2 separate regions of the Homo sapiens genome follow, and region 2 is linked to region 1. Evidence: promoter capture Hi-C in human tissues and cell types (Jung and others, 2019). All regions are on one chromosome and are shown on one strand. The core of a region is centred on a gene start or on the middle of the fragment in contact, and the rest is flanking DNA. Distances in the headings are between cores, read along the strand shown. Region 1 holds the start of D2HGDH (D-2-hydroxyglutarate dehydrogenase). Region 2 overlaps HDLBP (high density lipoprotein binding protein).

Region 1 (2,974 bases), core at 121-2,620:
CACGAGGTCAAGAGATCGAGACCATCCTGGCCAACATGGTGAAACCCTGTCTCTACTAAAAATACAAAAATTAGCGGAACGTGGTGGCGGGCGCCTGTAGTCGCAGCTACTAGGGAGGCTGAGGCAGGCAAATCGCTTGAACCCGGGAGGCAGAGGTGGCAGTGAGCCGACGTCGCGCCACTGCACTCCGGCCTGGCGACAGAGTGAAACTCCGTGACTGCACTCCAGCCTGGCGACAGAGTGAGACTCCGTCTTAAAAAAAAGAAAAAACAAAACAACAACAACAACAAAACTTGGGTTGTTCTAAGCGACTCGTTCGTGGTCATTCATTCCAGCAGCCTGTGGCGGTGCACACGCCCCTCTCAGCGCAGCCAGGGGCTGGCACCCCCATCCAGGTTGTTCTCAGCCCGCTTTGAAGCCTCCACGGGAAGGCGCAGCGGAGCAGGGACGCGGAAACGCCGCAGCTTCCCAAGCCTCACCCACCTCGCAGCGTCCGCAACCAGTCCACGTTGGGAGCCTGCAGCGCTTCCGGGTCCGTGACGACCCCGCCGGGCACGATGCGCTCAAAGGCGGCCAGGTCCTGCTTAGACACCGTGGAGAACGGCAAGCGCCGCACGGGGTAGCGCTCCCGGGTCAGCGGCACCTCGGGGGTCCCCGGGGCGGAGCAGCAGCCTCTGCGGGCCAGGGGGCCAACCGGCCGACCCCAAGAACCCGCGGCTCCCGGAGCACCCCGCAACAGCCACGCGGGCCACGCCAGAGGCCGACGGGGCAGCATCGCCGCCGGGACGGAGACCTCGGGCTCCTCCTTGGTGGGGGGCCGGTACTCAGGGCCCGGAGGGGAAGGGCAGGGAGCCGCTGGCTGCGCGCCTGGAAGTGGCCAAGGGTAATTTCATGTTTTATGCACGTTGTACAAATTGAAACACGCTTGCAGAAGCAGGGAGGGGGCAGGAGGGCAGCGAAGGGAAGGCTCCGAGCACCCGGGCCCTCCCCCTGCCCGGGCCGCAACCCCGCGAGCGCGCGAAGCCCCACGCAGCAGGCCTGGACTTAGCGACGCGCAGGCTCGGGGCGGCCTCGCCGGGACCTTGCCCAGGACCCCGTTCCTCCGAGCTCGCCCCCCGAGGGGATCCCGCGGACGCGCGCGCGTGTTCCACGCGGTCACGTGACGAGCTGCAGCGCCGTCCCCCTCCCCCCACAGGCACCGACTGGCTGACGGCGCCCGAGATCGCGCCCCGCCACCCCGACCCGCGGCTGAACCGCAGACCGGGACCCTCAGCCCAGCGCTCCGCGCGGCCGCGCGCACGCACCCACGATCACGTCCCGAGCTCCAACCCGCAGCGCCCGCCGCAGGCCCAGAGCCGCCGAGCCGGAGTGGGCGGGGCGACGCCGCGCCTGCGCATTGACGGCTCCGCCCAGCGGCCGAAGCCCCGCCCCGCGCGCCTAACGGGCCCCGCCCCGCCTGCCCTCCAGGCCCAGCCCTGCGCGCCTACAGTCCCCGCCCCGCCGTCCAAGCCCCGCCCCGACTGGCACCGGAGGCTCGACGGCCACCGCCTCGTCCTGCGTTTCCTGAGGGCCTCCGGCGCGCCGGCTGTCGGGCGCATCCCTCCAGGTAGAGAAGGGACTAGGCTGAGCGCAGCCCAAGACGCCCAAGCAGCAGCTGGAGGGTTCTCCAGAACGAGGCCCGGGACGTGGGCTCGGCCGAGGGACCTGGGGGCCGGCCCGCTCCTCCGAGGCCGAGCCCAGGGGGCGCCCCTTTCCCCAGCGGCCTCCCCAGCTCCTGCACGGACCACCCCTCCTGGGTCCCCAGCCTTAGCTTAGGGGGCAGCTGCCTCCTGCAGGTGTTTTCTTGCCTCCCTGTCCCTTCTGCCTGTTCAGCCCTCCGTGCCCTCAAACCCTTTGCACACCTGGGGAGCTCCTGCCCTCCTGACGCAGTAACTGCTGTCCCGAGGAGCCTCCCGGCCTGGGATCCCCTGCCTGAGGCATCGCCAGCACTTGTTTTGTGTTTTTTTGAGACAGGGTCTAGCTCTGTTGCCCAGGCTGGAGTTCTGGGGTTGATCTCAGCTCACTGCAACCTCTGCCTCCCGAGCTCAAACCATCCTCCCACCTCGGCCACCCAAGTAGCTGGGACTACGGGCGTGCACCACCACACCCGGCTAATTTTTTGTTGTTGTTGTATTTTTGTAGAGATGAGGTCTCATGTGCTGCCCAGGCTGGTCTCGAACTCCTGGACTCAAGCGATCCGCCCGCGTCGGCCTCCCAAAGCACTTGTTACTTCAGCTCACCCAATTCCATAGAACCCTAGCGGGTGCAGAGGATGCCAATCTCTGAGCAGATGAGGGCAGAGAGCAGGAGACCACACTTGGCCCGAGGCAGGACTGCGGAGCTGTGCAAGAGGTGGAGGCTACGCCCGTGACAGCAGATGGGTCCTGGTAGTCACACAGAAAACCGGCGAGCTGGATTTGTCCTGGTGATGAGGCTCTGGAGCAGCAGTTGCAAGGAGTCATTCCTGTCCTCCTTAACCACATCCCCAGAGGCCACTCACCTTCTTCCCAGGTGAATCATTCATACAACCCTGGAAAGGAGACATCCACCTGGCCCTTCCTACCTGGCTGGCCCTTGCTCTGCAGATGAGTGTGGGAGTTTGCCCATTGTCAAGGGTAACTGTTGCAATTACACATTCAGGAACTGGAAAGACGACCACAGATGAGGTCTGTGGACCCCCTTACCACCTGACCTCCACACGCCCTCCCTTTGACTAGCAGGCCAGTGGCATCTTGGACCCCTGGGATTAGGAATGATTCAAAACCCATAAAGATTACCACCCATACCATCCCCTAAAATAACTGATTTTTCTGACCAGGCACGGTGGCTCACGCCCATAATACCAGCACTTTGGGAGGCTGAGGCAGGTGGATCACCTGAGGTCAGGAGTTCGATACCAACTGTGGGCGGCAAGCCACCCAGGTGCCGAGGCAAG
Region 2 (2,974 bases), core at 216-2,715, 460 kb after region 1:
CACCACTTGTTTCACTTTATCTAGGTTGCTGGTTTATCAGTATTCCTTCTTTCTGGTCTCTCTGGCTTTCATTTTCTTGCTGAAATATGTCCTTTAGTAGGTCTGTCAGCAGGGATCTATTGGTAGTAGTTGCTTTATCTTTGAATATGTCTATTCTCATTCTTAAATGAAAAAGAATTCTTAAATCCAAATTGACAGTTATTTCTTTCGCCATAATTTATATATAGCCATTATCCTCTGGTATGTATTGTTTTAAGTGGTCTGCCTTTGGTCTCATAGTATTCTTTATGAGTAACCTGTCTTTTCTCTCTAGTTGCTTTTAAGGTCCTGCTCTTGTCTTTGGTGCTCTGAGGTTACTCTGTAGTGTGTTTTGATTTGGATTAGTTTAAATTATCCTGCTAGACACCTTCTCTGTCTTTTTTGGGATGAGGGAAGAATGTTGTATCATTAAATCTTAGAATTTTCTCAGCTATTTTAAAAAATGTTTCTTCTCTGTTCTTTGGATTTTTTCTTTTCTCTTTTTGTTTTGGAACTCCAGTTATAGACATATGTTAGAGTTTCTCATTCCATGGTTCTTAGCTCTTTCATTCGTTCCATCTCTCGATTTTTTTTCTAAAATGTCACCTTTATGTCTCTTATGCTTTTTTATTGTCTCAATCTTAGTTCTGTCTCCCGAAGTTCTTGAGTCTAATCCTACTTCTAATCCATCCTTCCTTCTTTTTGAGCTTTGGGCTTTTAGCCTCTCTACCATTTGTGCTGATCTGTGGGTATCCTTTTTAGCCTGGTATGAGGTTTATTCTTTCCTGAGGCGGGGTGGGGGGGAATTGCTTTCTGTTTTGTTAATATCTCAGTTTGGGCTAGGGGTTCCTGGACAAATGGGCTTGGTTGTAGAGTACTAGTCCATTGTCCCTACAGCTCAAGAGATGCTTCTGTCTGCCAGCTCAGGATAGTCAGAGAAGGCATCCTGTAGTCCCCTCTACACTAGTGGGCTTTTCTTCTTCTTTTTTTGATCTACCTATCTTCTGGTAAGTGTAGCCCTTTTGGGGATCATGACTTTATGGAATAGGAGGGTATCTCTTCTCACCTCCTACCTTGAGCAGACCCAAACTTCTCCCCCGTCCCTTTGAGGGCTGAAAACTCAAATGTCACAGACAGACGTTCACACTTCATTTGGTCTGAATATTGCTAGCCATGGAATTTCTAAAATTTGCTTCTACGAACTATTTATTAGTTTCAGTGTGCTAAGCCTGCTGGGAGGAAATGCTGGTTGTGAGCATCAGCACAGAAGCATTCTGGACGGTTATTAGCACAAAGTTAGCATATGATTTTGTAATCTCTTCTGCTAACAGTGTTTTTTAAACTAACTCTTTACGGTGTCCTGTGTACTAGGTACTGTGCCTGTGCTGACTTCCTAGCTTTATTGGAAGTTCCTTGACAGCGGACCGAATCCCTACCCGTTACTCTTTCTCCATCTCCCTCTGCAGTGCTGAGCCCTCAAAAACAAAACAGCAACAAAAAACACACTTGCACTAGTTGCTGATTGGTTAATCCCCACGGAAAGGTTACCAACAAACCACAGCAGTGACACAGAAGGGAATGCCTATTTCCACATCTAGGGAGGCCCACCTGCCCAGTTCCGTGCTGCTGACTTAGAGCACGGCTTTGCTGATGATATCCTTGGCTCCTTCTCTGCGTCAAGCCGCAGGTGTTCTCTGCCTTCTGTGATTCTGCTCCCCTCCCTAGGTGGTGTCATGAAGTGCATGGTATTTCTGCTGGCTCCTAGGCTTTTCCCCTGACCTTGCACATACAGTTGCCTGCTCCACTTCCCCACCTGCCCAGTCAGGGCATCACACCCCCTTATCCATCCAGTCTTCCTTGAATTTTACCCACCTCAGTGAGGGCAGCTCTTCCCAGTCACTCAGGCCAAGAACCTGTGTCTTTCTTAACTTCTTTTACACCCCTCTTCTGGTCAATAAGGAACTTCTTGGTGCTTCTTTCTGAATATATACCAAATCTGGCCATTTATTTCCTCCATTATGCCCACCATAATGCAAGCCATTGTCATCTTTAGACTGAACTATAGTAGGCCTCCCCTGCCCTCCCCTCCCCTGCCACTTAGTGTCAGTGTTCCACGAAAAAAAAAAAAACACGTCTGATCCTGCCTTCTGCTGCTTGCAGCCCCCACCCAGCTCCCACCATCCTCAACAGCACCCGTGGCCTGGCTGCAGGCTGTGCGGACCTGACCCCATTCCCTGGGTAAGGCTGGGTGTGCCCCTACCTCTTCCCCTGTGTGGGACGGTCTTGTCCCCAGATACCTGTAGTTGATCCTGTGCCCTATGCAGGATTCTGTTGACCTGCGACTTTGCCAGAGGTTCAGACTGACATCTCTACAGATTGCTCGACTCCCTTTATACCCTTAAAAGAAACAGTGGCAGTTATCACTTAGTAAACACAATGGATGCAGAAGTGACAAGTCCTTCCCGGAGGGTGGAGACCCCGAGAGTAGGGATTCCGTTCCGCCCAGTCCTGCGTATCCACCGTGGGCTCAGAGGCCACACACCGGTTCTTTTGCGTGTATACATCTATGTAGAGATGGAGCCATAAGTAATACACGCTTTAAAGGAAGGGGATTTTACATTTTGGGGGGGAGATTAAGTTGATTGCCAAGGAATCGGGTGGGGATAGTTTATAAAAGTGAGGGACATAAGGAATAGGCACGCAGGAATGAGGGAATGAAAGCCCTGGAGCCGCCTGGGAGCCTCACTGCGCTGTAGGACCTCGTGCCAGTGTGGCCATCCGTTTACGATGTGGTGGGCATCCTTTGAGGTTTTTCTTCTGATTTTGGGGAGGTGGGCGGTACTGGTGACATCTGCTTCCAGAGCAGCCGTCCTTCCTGCTCCCTTTCTGGTCTTCGGTTGTTTCCACTCGGGTTCTTGCGGGGCGCGCTCCCTCTGCTTTCTGGAGGTGATTAATT

The links. The method cuts DNA at HindIII sites, captures the fragments that hold promoters and counts their contacts. A contact is called where the count stands out against the background at its distance.
Region 2: a fragment that was not itself captured here is called in contact with the fragment with the promoter of D2HGDH in region 1 in 1 of the 25 tissues and cell types used here (lymphoblastoid cells).

What each region holds. Positions count from the first base shown.
Region 1 is chr2:241,733,026-241,735,999 of GRCh38, reverse strand. It overlaps D2HGDH (D-2-hydroxyglutarate dehydrogenase), which reads right to left and starts at 1,370. Exons shown (of 10, transcript NM_152783.5): 1 at 1,305-1,370; 2 at 484-867. The coding sequence starts at 775. RefSeq lists an enhancer at 304-543 and silencers at 584-693, 704-1,753, 1,794-1,843. The HindIII fragment of the contact is 17,644 bases long and covers 1-2,974 here.
Region 2 is chr2:241,273,026-241,275,999 of GRCh38, reverse strand. The region is part of intron 1 of HDLBP (high density lipoprotein binding protein); the gene reads left to right. It overlaps HDLBP-AS1 (HDLBP antisense RNA 1), which reads right to left. Exons shown (of 2, transcript NR_168372.1): 1 at 2,316-2,974; 2 at 1-1,997. Among named protein-coding and RNA genes, the nearest start is that of HDLBP-AS1, 2.3 kb to the right of the region's middle. RefSeq lists a silencer at 2,943-2,974. The HindIII fragment of the contact is 8,748 bases long and covers 1-2,974 here.